Linked DNA regions of Homo sapiens: region 1 is linked to region 2. The links are contacts of gene promoters, found by promoter capture Hi-C in blood cells and fetal thymus (Javierre and others, 2016). All regions are on one chromosome and are shown on one strand. Each heading gives the region's core, a stretch centred on a gene start or on the middle of the fragment in contact. The rest is flanking DNA. Distances are from core to core; before and after follow the strand shown. Region 1 overlaps PCDHA1 (protocadherin alpha 1). Region 2 holds the start of PCDHGB1 (protocadherin gamma subfamily B, 1).

Region 1 (6,176 bases), core at 882-3,381, 460 kb after region 2:
TGAAAATTTAGATTAAACAGGAAAATACCTGAAAAAATATTATCTACGTAACTGACTCGAGTAAATTAAACTCTGAATGGTCCTTATACTATTAAAATTGAGTCAGTAATCAGAAATATTCCCACCAATCAAAATCCTGATACAGATAACTTCAACAGTGAGTTCTCCAATCAAATAAGAAGTAATTCAAAGATTATACAAACTTTTACAGGAAACAGAAAATTTTCTGGAAGTTTTCAAAGACTATTCTTCTTTGTTAAGTATTCAAGTTATGCTAGATTCTTATTTATAACTTGAATACTTAACAAAGAAGAAATTAGGAAGAAAAACTAGGACATATCAGTATCACCTGGAATAAAGATGAAAAAATTGTTTTGAAAATTTAACAAAATAAGTAGTATATTAAAAGGATTATAAATTATAATCAAATTACGGTTATCCAAGGAAGTAGAGGTTGGTTTGCCATAAGAAAATCATAAATCATAAATTCAACACATTAACATTGCCAAAGAAAAAATTTATACCTCCCTCAAAAGATGCAGATAAAATATTTGATAACATTAAACCTCAATTCTAATGTTTTAATTTTTATGTTGAGACATGGTCTCACTCTGTCACCAGGCTGCAGTGGAGTGATGTGATCACAGATCACAGATCACTGATCAACCTCCCCAGATCAGGCTATCCCTTCAAAATTAAAAAAAAAAGTGGGTAGAATAATTCCTAGAGCTCACAAAGGGCTGGAAATATTTCACATTCCTACCAATCAGAGAAGAGAGACCTCTTAATGCACAGGGCATTAGGTGGTGTCCTCAGGAAAGTATTGCTGTAATAGAAGGCCGAATTAGTGCTACACTAAAAGCTGCTCTGAATGTGTACTAACAAATCTTAAAATGAAGCCTTGAAAGGAATAAATTGGTACTGAGCAACTTAACTTCACGTCAGAACTAAGTCCAAGACTCTTTAAAGCAGAGTTTCTCAACAGTGGAACTACTGACATTTTGAGCTAATTCTTTATTGTTGGGCGGCTGTCCTGTGCACGGTAGGATGTTTGGCAGCAATTGGATGGTGTTTAGCAGCATCTCAGAGCTCCATTATTAGATGCCAGTAGCAATTCCCTAGTTGTAATAACCAAAAATGTATCCAGGCATTGCCAAATTATCTCCTGGGTAGGGGGTAGAGGGGACAAAACTGTTTCTTATCAAGAACTACTGCTTTAAAGGAACACGCACACACATGCACACACACACAAAATCCAGCATCCGACAATGTAAAATTCACAATGTCTAGCATCTTATTAGAGATTACCAGTCATGCAAAACAGCAAGAAAATATATCCATAGAAGAAGATAGATTAAAAGAAGCAAACTAAGGACAAAAATGTTGAAATTAGCAGACAAGAAAGTTAAAACATCTATTATACATGTACTAATATGCTCAAACATATAGATAAAAAGATGACTATTCGGTGGAGACATGTAAAATAAATTTTAAAAGAGACAAAAAGAATCTTATACAGATAAGAAATAAATATGGTCTCTGAAATGAAGAATACACTGTTTAGGATTAACAGATATGATACTACAAAAGGAAAAATTAGTGAACTTGGAAAATATGTCAATAAAAGATATTCAAAATGAGGCACAGAGAAAGAAATGGACAAAAATAAAGAACGCTTCAATGACCTGTGTCATTGTAACATATGTGTTACTGGAGTCTCAGAAAGGATGGAAGGAAAGAAAAAACTATTAGAAGAAGTATGGTTGATTTTTTCCTGAATTTGATGAAAATGATAAATCCACAGATCCAAGAATATCAACAAACCCCAACAGACTAACATAAAGAAAACCATACTAAAGCACATCACAATCAATCTGCAAAAGTCAGGATAAAAAGAAAAGTTTTAACAGTAACCATGAGGGGTGGGGAGAGGAAGACTCATATATAAAAAAGCAAACATCTTATTAGAAACTATGCAAGCCAGAAGACAACTGAATTATATCTTTTAAAAAACTGTCAACTATGCCCAGTGAAAATACTTTTTCAAAAATAAAAATGAGATAAAGAGCCGGGCGCGGTGGCTCACACCTGTAATCCCAGCACTTTGGGAGGCCGAGCCAGGTGGATCACGAGGTCAGGAGTTCGAGACTATCCTGGCTAACAAGATGAAACCCCATCTCTACTAAAAATACAAAAAATTAGCAGGGCGTGGTGGCGGGCGCCGGTAGTCTCAGCTACTCGGGAGGCTGAGGCAGGAGAATGGCGTGAACCCGGGAGGTGGAGCTTGCAGTGAGCCGAGATCACGCCACTGTACTCCAGCCTGGGCGACAGAGTGAGACTCCGTCTCAAAAAAAAAAAAAGAGATAAAGATATTTCTCAGACAAAAGCTGAGTGAATTTGTTGCCAGAACATATGCACTATAAAAAATATTAAAGAAATTTTTCAGGCAGTAGGAAAGTGATACCAACTGGAAATTTGGATTTACAAAATAATAAATTTCGTTGCTAAATGTCTAATGTGTAGAACATGCCTGGCACATAGAGAACACTCAATAAGTATTTATTAAATGCATTTAATTAATGAATGTTCAATATAGGAGTTGGGAAGACCTTTCTTTTTTTTTTTTTTTTTTTTCAAGACGAAGTCTTGCTCTGTCACCCAGAGCTGGAGTACAGTAGCATGATCTCATCTCACTGCAACCTCCACCTCCCGGGTTCAAGCAATTCTCTTGCTTCAGCCTCCCAAGTAGCTGGGATTACAGGCGCGTGCCACCATGCCTCGCTAATTTTTGTATTTTTAGTAGAGACAGGGTTTCACCATGTTGGCCAGGCTGGTCTCGGACTCCTGATCTCCTGATCCGCCCACCTTGGCCTCCCAAAGTGCTGGGATTACAGGCGTGAGCCACCGTGCCCAGCTGGGAAGACCTTTCTAACTGAATATGCAGACCTTAAAATCCATAAAAGGAAAAAGATATATTTTAATTCATACATTTTAAAAACATTTATATATGACAAAATTAGTACAAACAAATGAATAGAAATAATATAGGAGGAAAACATATTTGTGATGCAGATAATAGATAAGCACACCATGGCATGTACACCTATGTAACAAACCTGCACGTTCTGCACATGTATCCCAGAACTTAAAGTGTAATAAAAAATAAATAAATATAAAAATAATTTTAAAAAATTTTATCTATAAATAGAGATACTTTTATTTATTTCTGAAGTAAAAGTAACAAAATTAGAGAAATGGAGAACAGATTACTGCTTGCCAGCATTAGGCAGGGAAGCAGATGTGGCTATAAAAAGGTGATATCAAGAATCTGGTTGTTACGGAACTATGTTACTTCTTTACTGTATCAATGTCAATATCCAGGTTGTGGTATGGCCCTACGCTTTTGTAAGATGTTACTATTGGGGAAAACTTAGTGAAGAATACATAGCATCTCCCTTTACTATTTCTTTCAACCACATGCGAATCTATAATTATCTCAAAATAAAAATTTTAATTAAAAATGTCAAAAAATAGATAAACAGTTAATATCTATAAGGTACAGAGAACTTTTCCAAACTGAAACTAAAAATTTTTTTTCAATAGAAAAGTAGGCAAATAACTTAATGGATAAATCAAAGAAGATCAAATACAAATCAACAAAATACATATGACAATATGCTCAAATTCACTAATACTATACAGGAATTTAAAATTAAAGTAACAGTGAAATATCATTTCACAGAGATCACATTAGCAGAAAGTAAAACCACTATTGCTTCTTGAGATAGAAAGAGTGCTCATAACTGGTTGGTTCCAAAATACTTGGAAGGCAATCCAGTGACATATTTTATAATTAAAATTATTAATATCTTTGATGCATCAATTCCACATCTGACAATCAATTTCGTAGAAATAACACCAATATTTTGGGAAATATATGAAATGATAGCACAGCATGGTTCATGAAGATAACAGAACACTTGACACAAAGTGATTGCCCATCATTAGGTAAATAATATATAATTGCACACTTACACTGTGGAATACTACACAGCTATTAAAACCATTAGATTTGCAGGGACTGCCAAAAGGTACTTTCAGTCACCAGTACCTTTTGGAAATCCCTTCAAACTTTGGAAAAGAAATAATAACAAAAAGCCTACCAGGTCTCTCTCTATATATGTATATATATATGTATGAGTAATTATCTGAATGCAAATAAAAAATTGAAAGCAGAATCACAAGATATTTTTCATGGGATATATGAGAGGGGAACACTGATGTGCCTAGAGGACAAAAAAGTAGAGACAATCAAAACAGTTTAAAAAAAGAAAGAAAGAAAAGTGCACTTAAAAAAAGCATTTATGTGAAAAGTTATGGGGCTCTTTAAAATAATATCTTGTGGGTATATGTATACATTAAACTAAAAATTTTTTAAATTTAAGATTACGATTAGCCTCATTAAAACAAACATTTTCTAAATGTTTAAGTTCTCACAACGTGAGGAATTTTTTGTAAATGCTCAATTGCAAGATAAATACTTAGAACTATTAAGAATACAACAGAAACAAAATATTCTTGTTTTGCACATTTCATTATGGTTTGTGAGTTAAGATTTCACTCTGAAGGATAATCCAACACATAATGTCCACAGCAGAGTTGTTAAATTCGATAACAACTAGCAAAATTAAAATTAAAGTAAAGAATAATTTGAAATTGGCAGGAAAGATGTCTTAAACAAACAACTGCAAGGAAGGCTAAAGTGTTTACTAAGACAATTTTTTAAAATATAAGCTTACCTCTTTCAAGCATTCTGAGTCCTCCTCCCTCTGGCCTGTTCCCTCTGCAGAACCCAGACAAGGAGGAAGGCTGGGACTGAAGGCCATGAGGTCCGTCTTATGCGGGCCCTCCCCAGAGCACACCCTCGGCCGCCTCTGCTGCGAGTACGACCAACTCCCTGCCGCGCTGGAGCACACTAGAGTGGGCTTGCCCGGCGCGCACGCGCCCTCGGTGGGCGGTGCCGAGCACCGCAGCGCAGTATACAGCAGCAACGTGAGCACCAACAGGCTGGACACCGCGCAGATGGCAATGATCAAGTAAACATTGACATCCACCAGCGCCGCTTCTGGACCCACAGCGCCTGCCGACGCCCTCGACGAAGCCTGTGGCGCTTGGCCGCTCTCCACCAGCGACAACAGCACCGTTGCCGTGGCCGTCAGCGCGGGCTCACCGTGGTCCTTCACCAGCACCAGAAGGCGGTGGTGCGGCGCGTCCACCTCGTCCAGAGGGCGCGTCGTGCTGATCTCGCCAGTGTACAGCCCCACGCGGAACGGGATGCGCGCGCCGACCGCCGCCAGCTGCAATTCATACGAAAGCCACGCATTGTAGCCCGAATCGGCGTCCACCGCGCGCACCTTCGCCACCACGTGGCCTGCACCCACCGACCGCGGCATCAGCTCGCTCACTGTGCCTCCCGCGCTGCCAGCCCCGGGCGTCAGCAGCGCCGGAGCGTTGTCGTTCTCGTCCAGCACGAACACCTGCAGCGTCACGTTGCTGCCCAGAGGCGGCACGCCAGAGTCGCGCGCGCTCACCTGGAACTGCAACAGCTCCAGCTCCTCGTGGTCCAACGGCTGCAGCGCGTACACCTTGCCGCTCTCCGCGTGCACCGACACGTAGCTCGACAGCGCACGCTCGCCCACCCGCCGCTCCACCAGCGAGTAGGAGACCAGCGCGTTCTCCTGTGCGTCCGCGTCCTGAGCAGACACCGTGAAGATGTGGCAGCCCGGCGGATTGTTTTCCTTCACGAACACCGTGTACTCGGGCTGCGCGAACGCCGGCGCGTTGTCGTTCACGTCGGCCACCCCCACCGACACGCTGGCCGTGGCCCACAGCGAAGGCGAGCCCCCGTCCCGCGCGGTCACCACCAGTTCATAGGCTGATACGCTCTCGCGGTCCAGGGCGCTGTCCAGCACTAATGAGTAGTAGTTCTTGTAGGTGGACACCAGCTTGAAGGGGACATGCGGCGTCAAGGTGCAGGTGACCTGTCCATTTGAGCCAGAGTCACGATCGGACACACTGATTAGGGCAATAATGGCGCTAGGCTGAGTGTCTTCTCTGATGGGGAGTGACAAAGAAGTGATGGTAACCTCTGGGGCGTTATCATTTACATCTAGTAC
Region 2 (6,327 bases), core at 2,863-5,362:
AAGAAAAGTTAGACTGAATAACTATAAAGTGCAGATAATAGTTTAGTGATTTTTTCACATGACACATTCAGTATTATTTTACAATTTCTAACTTTACTTTAGCTCTCATTTTAGAAATAGCCAGTAAAAGGAAATGTTTTGGTAGCCGAACATGGATTATCATTGCATGTGCCATCGCTTTCTTTCTTATGAATACTTACAGTAATTTACTAATCTGTGAAAATTTGAGATAAAGCAGTACATCAGTTCTTAAGCTTATTCCTCACTTAACAATTAGCAGTAGAAATGACTCATACAAAAGGGCATTAGCTATACAGAATTTAAAAACCCTCAGACTTTGAGAGAGTAGATTAAACGTGTTTTTCACAATCCTCAAAGACCGCACAAACTGCGGATGATTGAGAGGTGAAATAAGATGTTTGGAAATAAATTTGACAGTATGCATTAAAAAAATCTCAACATGTTTATAGATTTAACTAATTCCTCAGAAATCTACACTAAAGAAACAAGAAGTATGGAAAACGCTTTATAAACCCAAATGTTCATTACATTCTTTGTTTTAATAGAGACAAAATAGAAAGAGCATAAAAACAAATAATTTAGGAATGGTTAAGAAAATTATGAAATATCATTGACTGAAATTATAGAGTGGGAATAATATTGACTCAAAGTTAGTGATGCAAATATAAAATTGGACAATATTTGCTACTTGTGATGAGACAAAGTGTTAAGAGTCTTAATAATTGGAAGGCTGTATTAAACATACATGTTGCTGCAAAAAGACAAACTAGAATGTAATTGATGAAGATTACATTAATTACATAATTACATTAATACATAATTACATCAATTACATAATTAATGTAATTGATGAACTTTAACTTGGGTGGGAAGAACTCTAAATACATTTATAAAGAGCTAAGAATAAAATGACTTGAAAATATAGTATTGCATATCAACTAAGAAAAGGCACTGCTATTACTAAGTGTTAACATCTAGGAAACAGGTCTCTTTAGCAAGATTTGCCAACCATACAGAAATGCCAACAGTAAAGATTGAAAATTAAATTGCCAAGACTACTGAGCAATCAAGAAAGCAATCTCCATCTATCTAGTACCCCCTCCCGCAGTAGATACCATCACTAGAACAATGAAAGAAAATCAAAATTACTTATACACCAATGAGAAGAAAATGCAATATATAATTTTTGTTTGTTTGTTTTTTTAGACAGTTTCCCTCCCATCACCCAGGCTGGAGTGCAGTGGCACACTCTTGGCTCACTACAATCTCCACCTCCCGGGCTCAAGCGATCCTCCTGTCTCAGCTTCCTGAGTAACTGGGACTACAGGCGCGTGCCACCACACCCAACTAATTTTTGTAATTTTAGTAGACCGGGTTTTACCATCTTGGCTATGCTGGTCTCAAACTCCTGACCTCAAGTGATCCACCTGCCTCAGCCTGGTTAAGTGCTGGGATTACAGGCTTGAGCCACCGCGCCCGGCCGCCATATATAAAATTTAACTAGATTTGCAGAAACTCACGTGCGAAGACAAAGAAGGGTCATAAGCGATTTTGTGATCTTCATTACTGGCACATACAACCATAGAAGGATCATCACACAGCAGATCCTGAGGGGGAGCCATTTCCGGTGTCAGGTTGAGAGAATTAAACTCTGTCTTTGCAGAATGAGAGGCAATACATAGATTGTAGGAATAGGGCAAAGTCCCCTCGCTGTGGTTGGGAGGAACCCCGGGCCCAGACTTGGAGCAGAGACCGGTTTGAAAGCAGCCCTCAGTGTCGAGGCTGGAGGAACGTCGCAGGCGCAGGGCGATCGCTAGAATCACCGCGAGGAGAAAGAGCACTGAGATCAAGGCCAAGGCCACAACCAGGTAAAACTGCAGTTCCGTCTGGGGGTCAGAGGGCTCAGGGCGGTCGCTGAGGTCTGGCAATACCTCTTGCAGGCTATCCGCGAAGATTAGGTGCAGCGTGGCGGTGGCGGAGAGTGGCGGCTGTCCTCCATCACGCACAGCGACCAGCAGGCGCTGGCGGGCCGCGTCCCTGTCGCCCAAGGCACGCGCTGTGCGCACCTCACCCGTGCGCAACCCCAGGCTGAAGAGCCCGGGCTCGCTGGCCTGCAGCACGTGGTAGGACAGCCAAGCGTTGTGTCCTGAGTCTGCGTCCACCGCCACCACCTTGGTCACCAGGTAGCCGGGCTCTGCGGCGCGTGGCACCATATCGAAGAGGGCGGAGCCATCAGGCCCCAGCGCGGGGTACAGCACCCGTGGCGCATTGTCATTGAGGTCGCCCACCAACACGCGCAGGCTCACGTTGGCGCTGAGCGCGGGGGAGCCCTGGTCCCTGGCCTGCAGTGTGAGCTCGAAGGCGCGCAGCTGCTCGTGGTCGAAGGCGCGCTGCGCGAACACCACCCCGCTCTGCGGGCTCACGGACACGTAGGACAACAGCTCCCGCGGCTCCAGGTCACTGGCCAGAATAGAGTAGGAGACTCTGCCGTTGGGTCCCAAATCCGGGTCGGAGGCGCTTACTTGTGCAATGGAGGCGCCAGGTGGGTTGTTCTCAGACACGTGGACCACATAGGAGGCCTGATGGAAAACAGGTGCATTGTCGTTGATGTCGGAGATGTGCAGGGTGATGCTTGTCCTGGAGGAAAGGGCTGGTTTGCCCTTGTCGGTGGCTATGATTGTGACGTTGTAGTCTGCTGTCTGCTCCCGGTTTAGGGCTCCAGCAATCACCAGCTTGTAATAATTCTTCGAGGTGGATTCTAATTTGAAAGGAACTTCTTCCTGAGTATAGCATGTCACCATGCCATTTTGCCCAGAATCCTTGTCTCGCACTTTTATGAGGGCTATTACAGTTCCAAGGTCTGAATCCTCTGGAATCTGGTTAGAGAAGGACATGAATGTCACCTCTGGGGCATTGTCATTCTCGTCAACAATTTCTATTTGAACATTACAGTGAGCTGTGTGTACTCCTCCATCCTTAGCTTCCACACTCAACACATATCTACTTGTCTCTTCAAAATCCAATGTGCCATTGGTTGTGATGTCGCCAGTATTTGGATTGAGATTGAAGAGGCTGGTACTTATTGGGGAATTGAGGAAGGCATAGGTGATCTCTGCATTAATGCCCTCATCCTGGTCTGTGGCCATCACCCGCAGCACGGAGGTTCCCCACGGTACGTTTTCTTGGAGGCTAACCCTGTATACCTCCTGGCTAAACACGGGAGCATTATCATTGGCATCCGTAACTCGGATCCAGATATGGGTGGTGCCGCTTAGAGGCGGGTCCCCGCCATCCATGGCAGTCAGGATTAAGCGATGAGAGCTCTGATGTTCCCTGTCTAGAGGTTTTTCCAGCAGTAATACCGGATATTTACTTCCATCAGGACTTTCCTTCGTTGACAGAGAGAAGTATTGATTGGGGTTGATGGTGTATAACTTCAGTGAATTGCCTTCCACATCTGCATCTTGAGCAGAATCCAGAGAGAATTTTACCCCGGGTAAGGCTGACTCACAAATTTCTAAGTCAATGCCTTTTGCAACGAAACGTGGTGCATTGTCATTAATATCTTGGATTACAACAACCACGTGGAAAACATTCATTGGGTTTTCAGCGACCGTTTCGAATTCTAGTGCACACTCAAGTTTCCTTCCGCAAATCTTCTCTCGATCTATCCTACCGTTCACTAACAAATCCCCGCTCTCCAAACTAACGTTGAAATAATCCTCTGCACTAACCCGCAGTTTTCGAGTTGGCAACTCCCGGACACTGAGCCCCAGATCCTTGGCAAGTTTCCCCACCCGTGAGCCGTTGGCTAGCTCCTCTGGAATCGTGTATCGGATCTGCTGGGAGATGGCCCCGCAGAACAAAGACAGCAGGAAGGGAAACAGTACCTGACTTTTCATCATTTCGGCTTCTCTGGCTCTCTGCATTTCAGGAACTCTCCGCGGAGCTTCTTTCCTCTGGGATGTTTTTCAAAAAGAAATGGCAGCACCCTGGACTTCTGTGATTTGAGCTTAGGACTTATTAGTTAGGCGCTCGAGGGTGAACAGGAGCAGCGTCTGTGCTCAGTGCACCGGACAAAGCAGGAAGGCACCCTGCCTGACGCTCCTGCAGAATTGAGAAGCCTTCACTTCCTTTTGGTCGACAGCGGCGCCCAGAGGTTGTCTTGGAAAACTGCACAGGGCCCAGCTTTTTATCCTCAAAGCGCAACCTCTTGAATCTATGTACCCTGTCTTTAATTTGCTGGAGGGAAACACATACTCACATTTTCCCCTTTACATTTCAGTTTTCTAGTTTGTCATCATCAGATAAGGGCCTTCATCATTTCGTATTCTTTTTTCATTTAAAAAATTCACAAGGTACACTGCCATTTTTTTCAGTTTTGGGGGTAAAAAAAAATCTTCAGTGATTTCACTATATTTATAAACTCTGGCATGACTGCTGTATCCAAATAAGTGAATTGATAATTTTTATTTATATTTTTAGTTGACTAAAATACCTACCTTTCTGTAAATTCATTGGAATAAGCTCCCTTATCTAGTATTTTAAATCTCTCCATATATATGTTATCAATTCAGTAATACTTTTCAAAAATAGTTTTTGCAAAAAAGAGGAAATCACAGCCTTACTATTATGTTATTTCTCTTCTTTATAAAATATAGATAATCTTTCCAGTTAAGTAGGACAAAGTCTGATATTTTGTTAAAAGGGCCAATTTAGTGTTGGGGTACACATACATGCTTTTATGAAGTGGAATCTCATATAATGTACATTTGTTTTATGAAACCAGTGCTTCTTTTTTATATGAATGTATATTAAATACTCTAGGCTGGGTGCAGTGACCTGTGATCCCAGCACTTTGGGAGGCCAAGGTGGGAAGAACACATGAGGTCAGGAGTTTGAGACTAGCCTGTCCAACATGGTGCAAGCCATCTCTACTAAAAAAAATAAAAATTATCCAGGCATGGTGGCGGGTACCTGTAACGCCAGCTACTCGGGAGGTTGAGGCAGCAGAATCACTTAACTCAGGAGGCAGAGGTTGCAGTGAGTTGAGATCATGCCACTGAAGTCCATCCTGGGTGACAGAGCAAGACTCTGTCTCAAAAACATTCTCTATAATGCCAATTCTCAGCTCCAGCCGACTTATACCATTAATGAGCAAAACGAGTTTGACTTGACCACTGGTAAATATTGGAGAGGTATTCAGAGTTCTTAGACACCCAATTTTGGAACTTATTCTGTAGTTCCAGGCTTAGAACCAGTCTTGGTTCAAAGCAAATCCCTTTATTTCAAATGCATTACCAAATGAGATCCAACTCAACAATTTATTCTACTATTTTGCAGTGCTCACCCATACTCATACTCTATTCGAAACAGCCTATTATCTGTTTTCTTAAGATACCTTTTCACTTGTTTCCTTGCATCATGCCTTTATACTTTCCATTCCTTTTACTATGAACTTCTCCTCCCTTTCTGTTGTAGTGGATTCTTGCCCATTCTTCAAAAAAATAAAAATAAATCCTTTTTAGTGAAAATGGGATGTCTGAGACCTTCCATTACCTGTACAAGTAGGTGGAATTGTATGGGTTCCATACTCTCAGTGTATTTTCATGACACATATGTAGGCTATGTTTCATATAGAATTCTTAGAAATTATCTTTGAGCATCCAAATTTCCCCTGACACAGCTAATTAATTTTTTTTCTCCTTACAGGGAAAGTGATACTAATACTATAAACATTTTTTTTTCTAAAAATGATATGTTAAAAGTTACGTGCCTTTTTCTTTTGAGACAGGGTCATGCTATGTTGCCCAAGTAGGTCTCAAAGTCCTAGGCTCAGAAGTCCTCCCCTGGCTATGGGCCTTTTAAATTCTGTGATGTATTTCCATGTTTCAGTGAGAATACACCTTACTCTGCTTACAGCTTTTGTGTTCTGGCCCTGTTGTCTCATACATTTAAATGTGCCTTTTCCTAATATATTGAGGGAGGAATCTATTCTTTTGTTTGAGTTCTAATAAAACATATTTTGGTCTAATTTTGGATAACTCTCATATGATTTCATGAGTGAAAATAATTTCATAAATTGCAGAATAAGCCAACAATTTCTGGCTCAAGAAAGTTGTAGAACATGACAAAAGAAGGGACTTCTATTCCATTGTTGGAAGAGATTGTCTGGAAATCTCCCGCAGAGGCTGAGACATATTCCTTTACATGTTTTTGATGTCCTTCTCAAGGACAAGAAATACCACTCCAAGGCTCATAATAATTTAGCTAGGTGAGCTTTCCACCCTCAGGCAAAATGTTGAA

What was found. Contacts are between HindIII fragments. The CHiCAGO score rates a contact against its expected background, and 5 or more counts as called.
Region 1: a contact is called between a fragment that was not itself captured here and the fragment with the promoter of PCDHGB1 in region 2, in 1 of 17 cell types (M1 macrophages). The highest score is 5.4, in M1 macrophages.

Annotation. Positions count from the first base shown.
Region 1 is chr5:140,883,286-140,889,461 of GRCh38, reverse strand. All of the region lies in intron 1 of PCDHA1 (protocadherin alpha 1), which reads right to left. The region is part of intron 1 of PCDHA2 (protocadherin alpha 2); the gene reads right to left. All of the region lies in intron 1 of PCDHA3 (protocadherin alpha 3), which reads right to left. All of the region lies in intron 1 of PCDHA4 (protocadherin alpha 4), which reads right to left. It also overlaps PCDHA5, PCDHA6, PCDHA7, PCDHA8, PCDHA9 and PCDHA10, and 4 more genes. Among named protein-coding and RNA genes, the nearest start is that of PCDHA13, 4.2 kb to the right of the region's middle. RefSeq lists an enhancer at 5,119-5,703. The HindIII fragment of the contact is 5,330 bases long and covers 1-4,796 here.
Region 2 is chr5:141,347,884-141,354,210 of GRCh38, reverse strand. PCDHGB1 (protocadherin gamma subfamily B, 1) reads right to left here and starts at 4,112. Exons shown (of 4, transcript NM_018922.3): 1 at 1,542-4,112. The coding sequence starts at 3,950. The region is part of intron 1 of PCDHGA1 (protocadherin gamma subfamily A, 1); the gene reads right to left. The region is part of intron 1 of PCDHGA2 (protocadherin gamma subfamily A, 2); the gene reads right to left. All of the region lies in intron 1 of PCDHGA3 (protocadherin gamma subfamily A, 3), which reads right to left. It also overlaps PCDHG@. The HindIII fragment of the contact is 7,439 bases long and covers 257-6,327 here.